Regions from separate parts of the Homo sapiens genome. Here regions 1, 2 and 4 are each linked to region 3. The links are contacts of gene promoters, found by promoter capture Hi-C in blood cells and fetal thymus (Javierre and others, 2016). All regions are on one chromosome and are shown on one strand. The core of a region is centred on a gene start or on the middle of the fragment in contact, and the rest is flanking DNA. Distances in the headings are between cores, read along the strand shown.

Region 1 (3,102 bases), core at 215-2,714, 2.4 Mb before region 3:
AGTTAGGGACGTGGTGTCCCCCCTTCGTTGTTGGGGTGTCCGAAGCTTTTTTTTTTTTTTAATGTGATCCCGCCCCTCCCCCGCGCTCTGTGACGCACCAGAGACGTCGTCGTAAACTGGGTTTCCTGGACGCACGCCAGTGATTGACTTGGAATGAGGAGAGGGGCGGGGCCTTAGCAGTTGCCCTGAGCCAGGTCTGGTAGGAAGGGCGAGGGGGGCCAGGGTGGGGGGCGGGCAAGATATTTCCAGTCTCCAGCACCCACAAGTTGGACTGGGGAACTAACGCAGACCTTGAAGGCAGATTTACTGGATTGGACCCCCAGCTCCAACACAGTCCTCCTATGGCCTTAGGCAAGCCAAGTAACCGCTTTGTGCTTCGGTTTCCCCATCTGTAAAATGGGTATAATATGGGGACTACATGAGTTAATGTATGCAAAGCACTTAGAACAGTACCTGGCATAGAATTTTGCTATTGTAATAAAGGCTATGTGACATCATCTAGTGGCATATAGTCTTACATACTTATATCGAGGCTGCTCATCTTGGGAAGGAGACACAGTCTGAGTAATTATCAGAAGCAAAGCAGGCAGATATTTCAAAGTAAAGCTATACATCTTTTCTTGGCCCAGAGAGGAGCTACAAAGAAAGTATACTGGACGTTGGAAATGTATCATTTTTCCTCTCAAATACGAAGCTAGATTAAAGCCCATTATAGATATAGTATATGTTTTTTTTTTGTTTTTGTTTTTGTTTGAGACGGAGTTTTGCTCTTGTTGCCCAGGCTGGAGTGTAGCGGTGTGATCTCGGCTCACTGCAACCTCTGCCTCCTGGGTTCAAGCGATTCTCCTGCCTCAGCCTCCAGAGTAGCTGGGATTACAGGCGTCTGCCACCATGCCCAGCTAATTTTTGTATTTTTAGTAGAGACGGGTTTCACCATGTTGGACAGGCTGGTCTATGTTCTTTTTGCTCCTACTTTTGCCATAACAGACCCTGCCCTTATGTCCTGTTGCCTGTAAAACACTGTTGCGAAGCCCCAAGAAATCAATTACGTAACAGTGAAGAGAGAAACCGGTTGTTTAATTGCAGTCACGTTTATTTGCAGTTTCTATACACACTTTCTAGGTAATCAAACTTTTCTGATACATTTTTTTTGAGAGGGGTTCACAATGAAACTGTCACCATTTTTACTAAAAATAAATACAAGACTTAAAGTGTTGCACAGCTCTAAAATATACAAAGGCTTGGATTGAATGTAAACGTTGAAAACATCTTACAAAAGAAACCATCTTTGCAGCAATTTAAAAAGTTCATATTTACAAATATTACAAAAATACAAAATGGATGCAAGTCCATAAACCATTGTCGTTTCGGCCAGCATGAACTGGTTCTAGTACCAAAATAGTTACACTGTAACCTTCTTCATAGTTTTAAATCTTTATTACCATCTAGTTCTCTACGTGCCACCACTGCAGCAAATGCACTCACTCACTGACCTTTGGCAAGAGCAAACAGCATGTTCTGTTTGCTACAACTAGTCCATGTCCTCTACTTAGCCAAAAACAAATCAAAACAACAACAAAACCAAAGTAGAATTTTTAAAAAATGAAAAAATTTCCCCTACACAACATAGATACGTTGTATAAACATAAAAGAACAAAAAATCGCATCAGTGCAAACAACAGAAGAAAAGTTCGGATTGATGTTCTTCACAATACCTAACGTGTGTACCCTGCTTCAAGACGGCAGTGATGTTAAAGACAGCCCTAAATCTTGGTCTTGTTTGCTATGTAATCAAGCCATGTAGAATATTCCAGATTATTAGGGAACTTCCTGCTTTTTCTTCTCAGTTTGTAACTCAATACTCTTTTCCACAGTGAATTTTAAATCCATCTTTATTTGGGTTTTTTAAATCTATGAAATATAAAATAGAGAAACTCTGCTATAGATTTTTAGAGTAAACAAAATAAGTAAAACTATATTATAAGGGTTAGTTCTGTGATCATTACATATAGAAGGTATCTTATTGCCTCACAATTCAAGTCAATATGTATTTTAAAAAATATATGGTACCATTACTTAATGTCAATAATAAAAAGGTGACATTTTTATTAAAGCCAATTCATGTGTTTTCTATTCAAGATTTAGAATCACTTTTAAAGCCCACATACCTTTCTTCACACTTAAAAAACCCCTAACTACACAAAAGCCATACTGCAAACGAACTGCTTTTATGAAATTACGAAAGATCGCCTACTGTGACTGGAAATGACGGTTTCTTATCGCATTTGCCTAAAAACTTTATTTTTAAAACTTTGCAAGGTGTACTTTTCAAATCATGAGACAGATTTATTCATGTTCCCATGTGGTGTCAAACCATGCTGGTTTTCTTAATTAATGGGTTCCAATGAGAAATGGTGGTCCATTTTATTCAAACCCCAAAATATTTTTCTTTTAAGAAAAAGTGTGACATTTTGTAAATGTTCAAACCCTTTACCAGGTAGCTTATCTATCCCCAGTGTGTGTGCGTACACACACACTCACACTCACACACACCCATACACACTCTCTCTGACTCTCCCTCCTCTTATACCCCTCCACCCCCAGCACCCATTTTACATACAAGGATGACAAGAAATTTAGTAACACAGTTTGGTAGTGAAAACAAATAGTAGAAGAAGCCAGACATTTTTTTTCTTTCCAAACAAACAAAACAACAGCAATCAGATTATCTATTCTTAATCTGTAGCAGTTTAGAAATCATTTCTATTGAAAGACAGTATCTTCTTAGACCAGGCTTCCTCCTTCATTTTGCATGAATTAATCCAAAATGCAAACCCTCTTCCACACCTCCTACTTTCCCAACTACCACTTGCATAAGCTTAAAGCCAGCAGCTTGTCAATTTCTTGGTAACATTGGTATGTTCTATCACTCTAATCACATTCTAGTCTTTTATAAGTCAGATCCCTTCTTAATTCTCTCTCTGTTCTACCTCTCCCATTCAAAACCTATTCTAAGTACATAGCTGCTTATATTTCTGACATAAGATTCCAAACATTAGTATAAGTTCATGTTAAAATCAGAGGTGTAAAAACCATTTGCAG
Region 2 (3,119 bases), core at 389-2,888, 2.5 Mb after region 3:
ATTCTTTGGCCTGTTTTTACTCAGGAACCTCAGTTCTCATATGACTAGCAGTCCAGGGGAGGACAGAGAATATCATCACCATGGCAACTTTTCCCCTAAAGCTAGTCCTGCTTCTACTCAAAAAGATGATCATGACTACCTTTATTCTAGGTCTTTAAAAAATTGTGGCTAGAAGGCAGCATCCATTTGCCATTCTGCCAGAGGATCTTTATTGACCCCCAAATAAAAACGCTGAAGAGCGTCACTGACTCAACAATAAACGGGCATGGTAACTAAAAGATAGCCACAGACTCTTAACACATTTCCCATCAAGGAGCAGGGTCTAGTCTCCCGCCCTTGAATCTGAGAGGGCTCTGTACTTGCCCAACAGCATATGACAGAAATTATGATACACCAACTTGCAAGCCCAGTCCTTAATGGACTGGTGGCTTCAATGTCCTGTCTTTTGGAACATGTGCTCTTAGAACCCAGCTTCCATGCTGTAAGGAAGCTCAAGCAGCCCCATGGAGAGGCCTACAAGAAGAGGAGCTGAGGTTCCTAACCAAGCTCCCAGGCAAAAGCTAGTAACAACTTCAGTCATGTGAGCCATCTTCAAGAACCCTCCAGCCCCAGTTAGCCGCCTCAGCTGTGACCAGCCTCAGCTGTGACCATACGCGGCAAAAACAAGCTTTCTTCACTGAGCCCTTCCCAAATTGCAGATTTGTAAGCCAAATCAACAATTACTGTTTTAAGCCATTAAGCTCTTTATTTATTACATGGTAACCGATAACCTTGTATAACTTTGCATAACCTTGTCTCACAGTATAGCTAAAGATTCTGCCAGCAGGTTAACTGACCATAGTAAAATGTTACAACAGAGACATCTAGACACCTGCTGTCCTAAGATGTCATCATGGAATTTCCATGGTCTATAGTGAAGCTGGAGCGGACCTCTCCCTGCATATCTGAAATGATTTAGGGATAAGAAGGTAAAATTGGAAGGCTCTATGTTCAGTAAAGTAGCATATAAAAAACGCAAAATGGGAGGATTGATGGCCAGGAGACAGCAAACCAGATTTCTGATCCTAGTTCAGTGACAGATTCAAGAAGGGGCCCTTACATGAACTGAATCAATTTTGTCTTCATTTTGCCCTTCAGTTTTTCCTCTCTACGATTACACAGCTAAAAGCTGGATTCCTAGCACAGTAACTGGTCCAGAGAGGGCTGTTTATAAAAATTAAGCTCTGTACTTGTACAGTTCATGGAAAAGAGAAAAGTCAGGCAGTGAACCTTTTATACTCTATACATTAAAAACATAAAATGTAGCTATATAGGCAATTCCCAAACTTCATGCTGAGTGGTTTTTGAGGTCCCACGATTTCTAATTATCAAGTGATGGTTATAAAATGCCAAAAACAAAATAAAAGTGAGTCTGCTTTATATTTGAACCAAATGTATAAACAATCATACTTCAGTGTCTGAGTGAGTTTTGCCCAGTGGCACATGTGGTATTTTTAGGAGAAACTCAACACTGACTTAGCAGTGAACTGATCTAGATTAACCATGCTCCTTAGCAAAAGATCATGCTGCACTGAGTACCTGGAAGGGCAACATATTTGCTTTCAAAATTTACTTCATCAACAAATTTCTCCTTTACTTATATGACGACACCTTCTGAACAAAAACTATTCTTCTTCTCGTGTTCTTACAGCGACTGAAACTTGAACAAGACTGGCAAAATACTGCAACACTCAAACCTAGCTCTATCCTTCTCCAGAGCCCTAGACCATCCTCTCAGACTTCTGCATTAAACACTGCAGAGTGGAATTCTTTAGCCAAAGTCCACCTGCCACTCATTCACAATGTTTCTTCGCTTATATTATCATCGGAGCCATAACTGGAATTTGCCACCTGGAAGAAGTCACGTAAGATTCACATATCCTAAAAAGCTGACTTGCCAAAATATAGCATCTTCCCCATCAGTATTAACATAACTCCTCCTTAAGAAATTTTTGCCTAACCCCAAGTCAAGATTTTCTGCTAGAAATTTTATAGTTCTAGATTTTACAATTAGGTCTATGATCCACTTCAAAGTTAATTTTTACAAATGGTGAAAAGTATGGATGGAAGTTCATATTTTTTGGCATATGGGTGTCCAACTGTTCCAACACCATTTCTAGAAAATGTTGGTAAAATTGAACCTTTGCCAAAGATATAAAAATTATCAGTAACTGTGGACAGTTAACGGTACTAGACATTGGAGGAAGAAGGGGGAAAAATGAGACCAATTTGAAATGAGTCAAGGAGCTGTGTGGACTCAGGCAGATAGACAAAGGAGCCCCCCAGGTCAGCTTCCGAGGATGGCCACCACCTGAGGCTCTCCTGGACTTGAGAAATGGGTGAAAGTTACAGTCGAATCACGGCGTTGTTGCTGGACACAGCAGAGTCCTAGAACAAGAAGGAAGCTGAAAGTCCATCATCTTTAAAGCAGCAAGAGTAGTGGGAGCAGAGGGGAGCCCAGCACGTGCGTCCTGGGGTTCTCACAGTCTTTCAAACCTTGGCACAACTGCACCCTCTGGATAACGCAGTGGTCTGCGCCCTGGCTGCTCAGGAGAAGCCAGGGAAGCTTGTAAAATCGCTGATCCTCCGCCCGTTGGATCAAACCCTTGGGGGCAGGTCGGGGGAAGCAGCGTTCGGACCGTCCCCAGGTAAACCCAGCGTGCAACCAGAGTTGGGGACGGGGGGAAACCTTTAGTCGCACGCACTGGTCTGAGGTTCAGCTTTGTAGGGACGCGGAAACTGGGACCAGCCAACCCAGGACGTCTCTCCACCGCGCGCTGACCCGATGCGGTTCCCGCCCGCTGCGCCCACTCTCTCCCCGACGGTCTGTGACCGCCCAGACGTCTCCCTTCCGGGCTGGGGACGCCAGGCCGGGCGGCACCGCTGGGAGGCCGGGAGCGGCTCGGGACCGCCGGGTCGCCGCGGTCCCAGGACCGGAGGCCCTGCAACCGGGGGCACAGCCGAGGCGCGCATCGGGACGCGCGGCGCCCCGCCTCGGTTTCTTCGCAGGCGCGGGCGCGGGGGCGCGGAGGCCGCGTTGCCACCGTCCCGCCCCGGAAGGGGGAGCGCGGCGTCCGCGG
Region 3 (2,809 bases), core at 159-2,658:
ATTATAAAGCTTAATTAAGTGTCCTTGAGTCTTCATCACTGTAATTCTCCGATGCTTCATCAATATTAACACAGGGCAAAGTATCGATTGCTACTCTAGTCTTACTCATCAACTCATTAATTCGCTTCAAATCTCACAACTAAAATGCTCTTTCAATGATGTTATTGCACTGTAATTTGTATAAGGTACACTCCACGAAATACTGTCAATACATTTTATTGTGAGCATCTAATATGTGTCAGGGAGTGTGCTGACATTGGGTAAAGAAATTCATGTATTAAACTAAAACTTCCTCAACATCCATTACCAAGAACAGATCCTGCCTCAGTTTACTATCTGGCAGGGAAGGCAGACATTTAACAAGCAAATACAATTTCCGTTTTCAGAAAGAAGTCCATGTGAGATCTCAAGAGACAAGTAATCAAGGATCAGGGTGAGGAGGGAGAATGCAATCAGGCAAACAACTTGAATATCATCTGATAAATGTTATACTTTGGCCAGCATGTGGCCAAAGTACTATTAAAATTAAAAAGTGAGAGTATTTCATTCTCTGGAGGCTTGGGGAAAGCATCAGAAAGGAGCAGACATTTTCAGGGATGAATAGGCTTACACTAGGCTTAATAAAATGGGTGCCAGTAACGGTGGCTGTGATGGTACTCAGAAAGGAATTTCTTCTCGAAAACGCACGTATGGCAGGGATGGGGGATTCCAAGTACCAGCTGTGACGCATGGATGACCGTCATACCACTCTCACTGATTCTTTAGCTTCCTAGTCAAGCACCATCGTAACTAGTTGAACCAGTCGAGTGGGAGTTGATATTTCAGATCAGACCTCGTATGTTTCCCTCAGAGTGTAGAATTGCCATATAAATAACAGGATGTCTAGTTAAATTTACATGTCCGATAAAAAACGAATGTGTAGTGAAGTCCCCAATATTTGGTACATGCTTGTATTAAACATCATTTGTGCTTTATCTGAAATTAAAACTTCATAGTTTCATCTGTTTTGACTTTTTGTGTATTTTTATTTATTTATCTGGCAAACGTCCCAGAGCGGTAAGAACCGGCACGGTTTTGCCGTGGCACAGCTGATTACAAACAAAAAGTCTCTCCAATCAGAAGCAAGCGCGCAGAGAACTGGCGTCCGGAATAGAGACGCTGTAACCAGGAAACCAGGGTGAGCACCCACCCTACCGTCGGCCGCTTCTAGGAGACGGGCGCAGGCGCGCGCTGACGTTACATCTCGCGCTTAAGGGTGGGGACGACAGAGCGTCTCTCTCGGACGTGACCTCAGCGCCTCTTTGTGATTGGCTGCCTCGGGGGCGCGGCCCTTGGGCGCGGACGCCCTAGATTGGTGCTGCGGAACAGCAGGGAGGGACTCCGGCTGCAGCCGCGGGAGGTCCGGACACTGGCGGCCATGGAACTCACCGGTGAGTGCGCGTCGCGCCGCCCCTCTCCAGCGCTCTGGGCCGCTTTCGGATGGGGCTGTTCTGCGCGCGTGGGATCGTGGCGGGTGGTGGAGGGGGTGAAACCGACCCGGTTCGAAGCCCGGAAGTTGGGTCGGAGGGTCTCCAGAGTAGGTTGGGGCTGAGGGTGCGTTTAGGGCGGACGCGCTGGGTTCCTTGGCTCAGGCGGGTGGGTCGAGGGACTGGGGTCTCCGGAACCCCGGGCCTGAGACCAACGTCCACTCTTTGGTTGTTTTCTTTCTCTCTTTGGGCCTGGCCATCCCCGCCATGAACCCAGCGGGGTCGCTGTCTGAGCAGGGGTATCCCCTCCTTGGCCCGAGCGTTTCCCCAGCGACCTCTCAGGGAATCAGGGAATGAAGCTCAGACAGTGCCCAGGAATTGTCGGTGGAAGTACCATTCTCTTGACCCACAACTCCTGCCAGGTCTCCCTAAGGTTCTTCAGGAACCTCTACTGCTAATGATTGCCCAGGGCTCGTTGGTCGTGGTCGAGAATTTTACGGTAATGTCTTTGCCACTTTAAGTGGCTGGGTGGGAACCTTGGACAAATCACTCAACTTGTCTGGGTTCTCATTTGTAAAACGAGAGAGGTATTCACTAGAGCTCCAAGCCTCATTTCGGCTTTAAGAGCTAAGATTCTGCGATTGTGCAGCATAATGAACTTTTATGTCAAAGATGTTTGGACTGAAAACCTGGCGGAAGTGGGCAGACTCCTCACAGAACGTTGCAGGCTAATGACAACATTTTAAATGATATCATTTGGTTCATTACTCACTGTTTTTGCTATCGTTCATCTTTTAAAACTGGTAGAACTGGAAGTTCGGGTTTAGGTGACCACAGTAAGAAAATGTTAGTTAAGCCACCTAAAAGTACAAACTTGGGGAATTTCAATATTTGGTAATATTGAATCTTAATTAGTAAACTCAGTCAACAAACACTTCTGGGGTCTTTCCGAGAGTATATTTAAAATGTAGATGAGGCCGGGCACGGTGGCTCACACCTGTAATCCCAGCACTTTGGGAGGCCGAGGCTGGTGGATCACCTGAGGTCAGGGGTTCGAGACCAGCCTGGCCAACATGATGAAACCCCGTCTCTACTAAAAATACAAAAATTAGCTGGGCTTGTGGTGTGCGCCTGTAATTCCAGCTATTCAGGAGGCTGAAGTGGGAGAATCGCTTGAACTCGGGAGGCAGAGGCTGCAGTGAGACGAGATCGCTCCACTGCACACTAGCCTGGGCAACAGAGTGAGACTCCGTCTCAAAAAAAAAAAAAAAAAAAAAAAGTAGATGAATTTGTTGGAGAGACTAGACAGTTAAGCCTTTGCACATACAGTTAATTGGCATTTT
Region 4 (2,993 bases), core at 42-2,541, 2.4 Mb after region 3:
ATGGTGAAACCCTGTCTCTACTAAAAATACAAAAATTAGCCAGGCTTGGTGGCGTGCACCTGTAATCCCAGCTACTCGGGAGGCTGAGGCAGGAGAATTGCTTGAACCTGGGAGGCGGAGGTTGCAGTGAGCTGAGATCACACCACTGCACTCCAGCCTGGGCAACAGAGCAAGACTCCGTCTCAAAAAAAATTTATAATAATAATAAATTAAAAGGCAGATTAATTGGAGAAAAAGCATACAAATTTATTGTGCACATGGAGGAGAACCATAGAGTGATTACCAATCCCCGCAGTGGGGTACAGAAGCCTTGAGGTTACAGAAAGACTGGAGGCTTGGATCTTGGCAAAGAGATTATGGCATGGGGAGAAGAGGAGGCCTGGCTGGCAAAGGCGTTCTTGTTACATAGGAGAAATCTCAGAGGTAGCCGCTCTCAGACAGAATAGATAGTAAATGTTTCTTTCAGACCTTTAAAGGTATCAGACTCTCAGTTTTTCCTAGATATGGACAAGAGAGAGCCTCAGAGAAAGCCTGGCTGTATCAACGTAGTTTTTCTCTGCAGATGCAAATCTTCGCCACATGAGACAGTTTTGTAGGGCTGCTTCTGTTTGCGGGCCCTGTGAACAGCCATCTCAAAATATGTCAAAGAAATATATTTTGGGGTAAAATATGTTGATTCCTTCACTGGGCTTGAGGTGCCCCACTCCCAAGTTTGAGAGAAGAATCTGGGAGAGGTTTGGGAGATTTTTTTCTTTCTGGTTTTAATTGCACTCTGTTTCCTCCAGAGTTTACAGTTATTATTATTACTGTGTGATCTAATTATGTGCAAGCAACATAATCACAGAACTGATTATGCCTCTGAAAATTGGAAGGGAATATTTTGGGGGAAAAACCCAAATTGAGAAATGACTGAGTTTATAGCCAGTAACAGCTGTTGTTTTTAGGAAGTTAAATCGATTTCTTTTGCTCAAAGAGTTTCTACTTCCTGAAGAGATGTACCCTGTTTTCTATGGGTGCAAAGGCAGTCTGTGTACATCATGATACTCCATACGGGCCTGATGGCGCTCAAACAGAAGGCCAGGCCAGCAGGCATCAGAAGCTTTTCCTTTCCCCCAGTTTCCTGTTTCCAGATCGTATTCCAAAGCTATAATTTCTACTTACCTTGAAGACCTTCAGTTTTCCCTGTTTCCTTCCTCTACTCCCTGAGCCTCTCACTATGAGATCCCTAGAGTGTGGTTGTAACGGCCTCCTCTAGCGGGTGCCCAGGCCCCAGTCTGCTCTGCTCCACACTTCCCCCTAGGGGCAGTTCTCTGCCTGCGTCCATGCTACCCCCTGCTTCTAAACCTTCCAGCGATCCTCAACACCAGTCGCCTATAAAGTACAAGGGCCTTGCACTTTATAGTTGGCCTTCAGGGAGGGCACAGTTTGCAGCCAGTACTGCCTACCAGCACACTTCTGTTTCCTTCAGCTCACCAAAGCTTTAGCCATGAGAGTTTATCATTCCTTCCTCATCTTCCTGTCCACGCCTGTATTTCCAGATCATTCACACTGTGCCCTCTGCCAGGAATGCCTTAGTCTCATTTCCAACCTCACGGCCACCTTAGGAGACAGCTCTTGTGGCATAGATGTTAAGATGGAAGGTTCTGGAGTCAGGCTGCAGGATTTGTATACTAATTCTGCCCAGGGTGTGCAGCCTGTGCAGTCACATAAGAGCCACACTAAGGAGGGCTCCGGGCTTGGTTTTTTGCTCTGCTACCACCATCTTGAAATTCTTAATCATTTTTGAACCAGGGCACTGGACTTGCAAACTATGTAGCCAATTCTGCTTCTGACACTGACAAACTGTCTAACTATAAAATCAGGATGACAGTGAAGGCTTAGAACAGGGTCAGGCACTTTGGAAGCGGTCAGTGAATGGGAGCTATCATTATCCCCATCTTACACACCAGGAAAGAGGCTCAGTGAGTTGCTCCACACCCCACAGCTGTCACGTGACAGAAACGGTGACGTGGCTTACTTTCACTTCCCACGCCGATGTGAACTTTCCTACGTAGCCCTGACTCTTTGTAGCACGTGGTCATGTCTGCTCTCAGTGTATTATGTGGCAGTATTTAAAGGCTGCTCATACTGCCTTTGTTCCTTTAGAAGTAAGCAAAGCACAGAGTTAGTATTTCTCACACTTGAAAAATGAGAACAGTAAATCAGTGACTGCCTTAAACATCCAAATCCAATTATGACCTTTGCTGAGACAAAGATGCTGGCATCAGAGTCTGGAGTCTGGGGCTCTGTGAACCCACACACCATGCCTGTCCCTCTTCAGTCTGGAGCCAGAATCCTCCCTTTCCCACAAAAGACAAAAGATGCTAACAGATGCACGCTGGTTTCCGGAGGAAAAGGCCACTTCTGTGAGCCAGTGGGAAGACGGGAAGTCTTTCCTGCAGGAAGGGGGTAGGTAGCTCAGGATACTAGCAGGAGATGCTTTTAATTGTTCTGCAACAGTGACAGCTCAGCATCGTGATTCCTGGTGGTGCTGGGGTGCAGTACTATTGTTAATGTCAGCTCCCATTCATTCATTCCTCTATTTTCACACTCACACATTCTGAATGCAGTTATTATGCTGTGGTCTTGGGGAAGGAGCTGTGCTAGTGGAAAGTGATGCAAAGTGAAAAGAATATTCTTGCCACTTGGGGATTAGGGAGAAAACCAGCAAGTATGCAAAGATTCACAACCATCTGGTGAGTGCCTAAAGCCAGATATTATCAGAACTCGGGTAAAACCAGAGGCCTAGAAAAGGCAGGAAAAACATGGCTCCCTCAAGAGGTGAAATTTGAGCTGAGATTTGAGGGATAAGGAGATCTGATTGCCAGTCCCGTTGAATTCATTTCCTATCCCTGTAGTAGCAAAGGACCACAGATCCAGCAGCTTAAACAACACAAATTGATCATCTTAAAGTTCTGGAGGTCAGAAGTCTCACTGGGCCAAAATCAACGTAC

Evidence for each region. The method cuts DNA at HindIII sites, captures the fragments that hold promoters and counts their contacts. A CHiCAGO score of 5 or more calls a contact.
Region 1: a fragment that was not itself captured here is called in contact with the fragment with the promoter of PIGA in region 3 in 1 of 17 cell types (total B cells); the score reaches 6.3 in total B cells.
Region 2: a contact is called between a fragment that was not itself captured here and the fragment with the promoter of PIGA in region 3, in 7 of 17 cell types (non-activated CD4 T cells, naive CD4 T cells, activated CD4 T cells and 4 more). The highest score is 19.6, in non-activated CD4 T cells.
Region 4: a fragment that was not itself captured here is called in contact with the fragment with the promoter of PIGA in region 3 in 1 of 17 cell types (naive CD8 T cells); the score reaches 5.3 in naive CD8 T cells.

The regions. Positions count from the first base shown.
Region 1 is chrX:17,733,968-17,737,069 of GRCh38, reverse strand. NHS (NHS actin remodeling regulator) reads right to left here. Exons shown (of 9, transcript NM_001291867.2): 9 at 1,076-3,102. Among named protein-coding and RNA genes, the nearest start is that of SCML1, 2.0 kb to the left of the region's middle. The HindIII fragment of the contact is 2,833 bases long and covers 48-2,880 here.
Region 2 is chrX:12,791,710-12,794,828 of GRCh38, reverse strand. The region is part of intron 1 of PRPS2 (phosphoribosyl pyrophosphate synthetase 2); the gene reads right to left. Among named protein-coding and RNA genes, the nearest start is that of PRPS2, 1.9 kb to the right of the region's middle. RefSeq lists a silencer at 2,712-3,119. The HindIII fragment of the contact is 1,938 bases long and covers 670-2,607 here.
Region 3 is chrX:15,334,122-15,336,930 of GRCh38, reverse strand. PIGA (phosphatidylinositol glycan anchor biosynthesis class A) reads left to right here and starts at 1,408. Exons shown (of 6, transcript NM_002641.4): 1 at 1,408-1,430. RefSeq lists enhancers at 1,477-1,556, 1,607-1,656. The HindIII fragment of the contact is 3,001 bases long and covers 12-2,809 here.
Region 4 is chrX:12,949,355-12,952,347 of GRCh38, reverse strand. No RefSeq gene overlaps it. Among named protein-coding and RNA genes, the nearest start is that of TLR8-AS1, 7.6 kb to the right of the region's middle. RefSeq lists enhancers at 984-1,213, 1,144-1,438, 1,844-2,138 and cis regulatory regions at 1,067-1,496, 1,766-2,178. The HindIII fragment of the contact is 379 bases long and covers 1,102-1,480 here.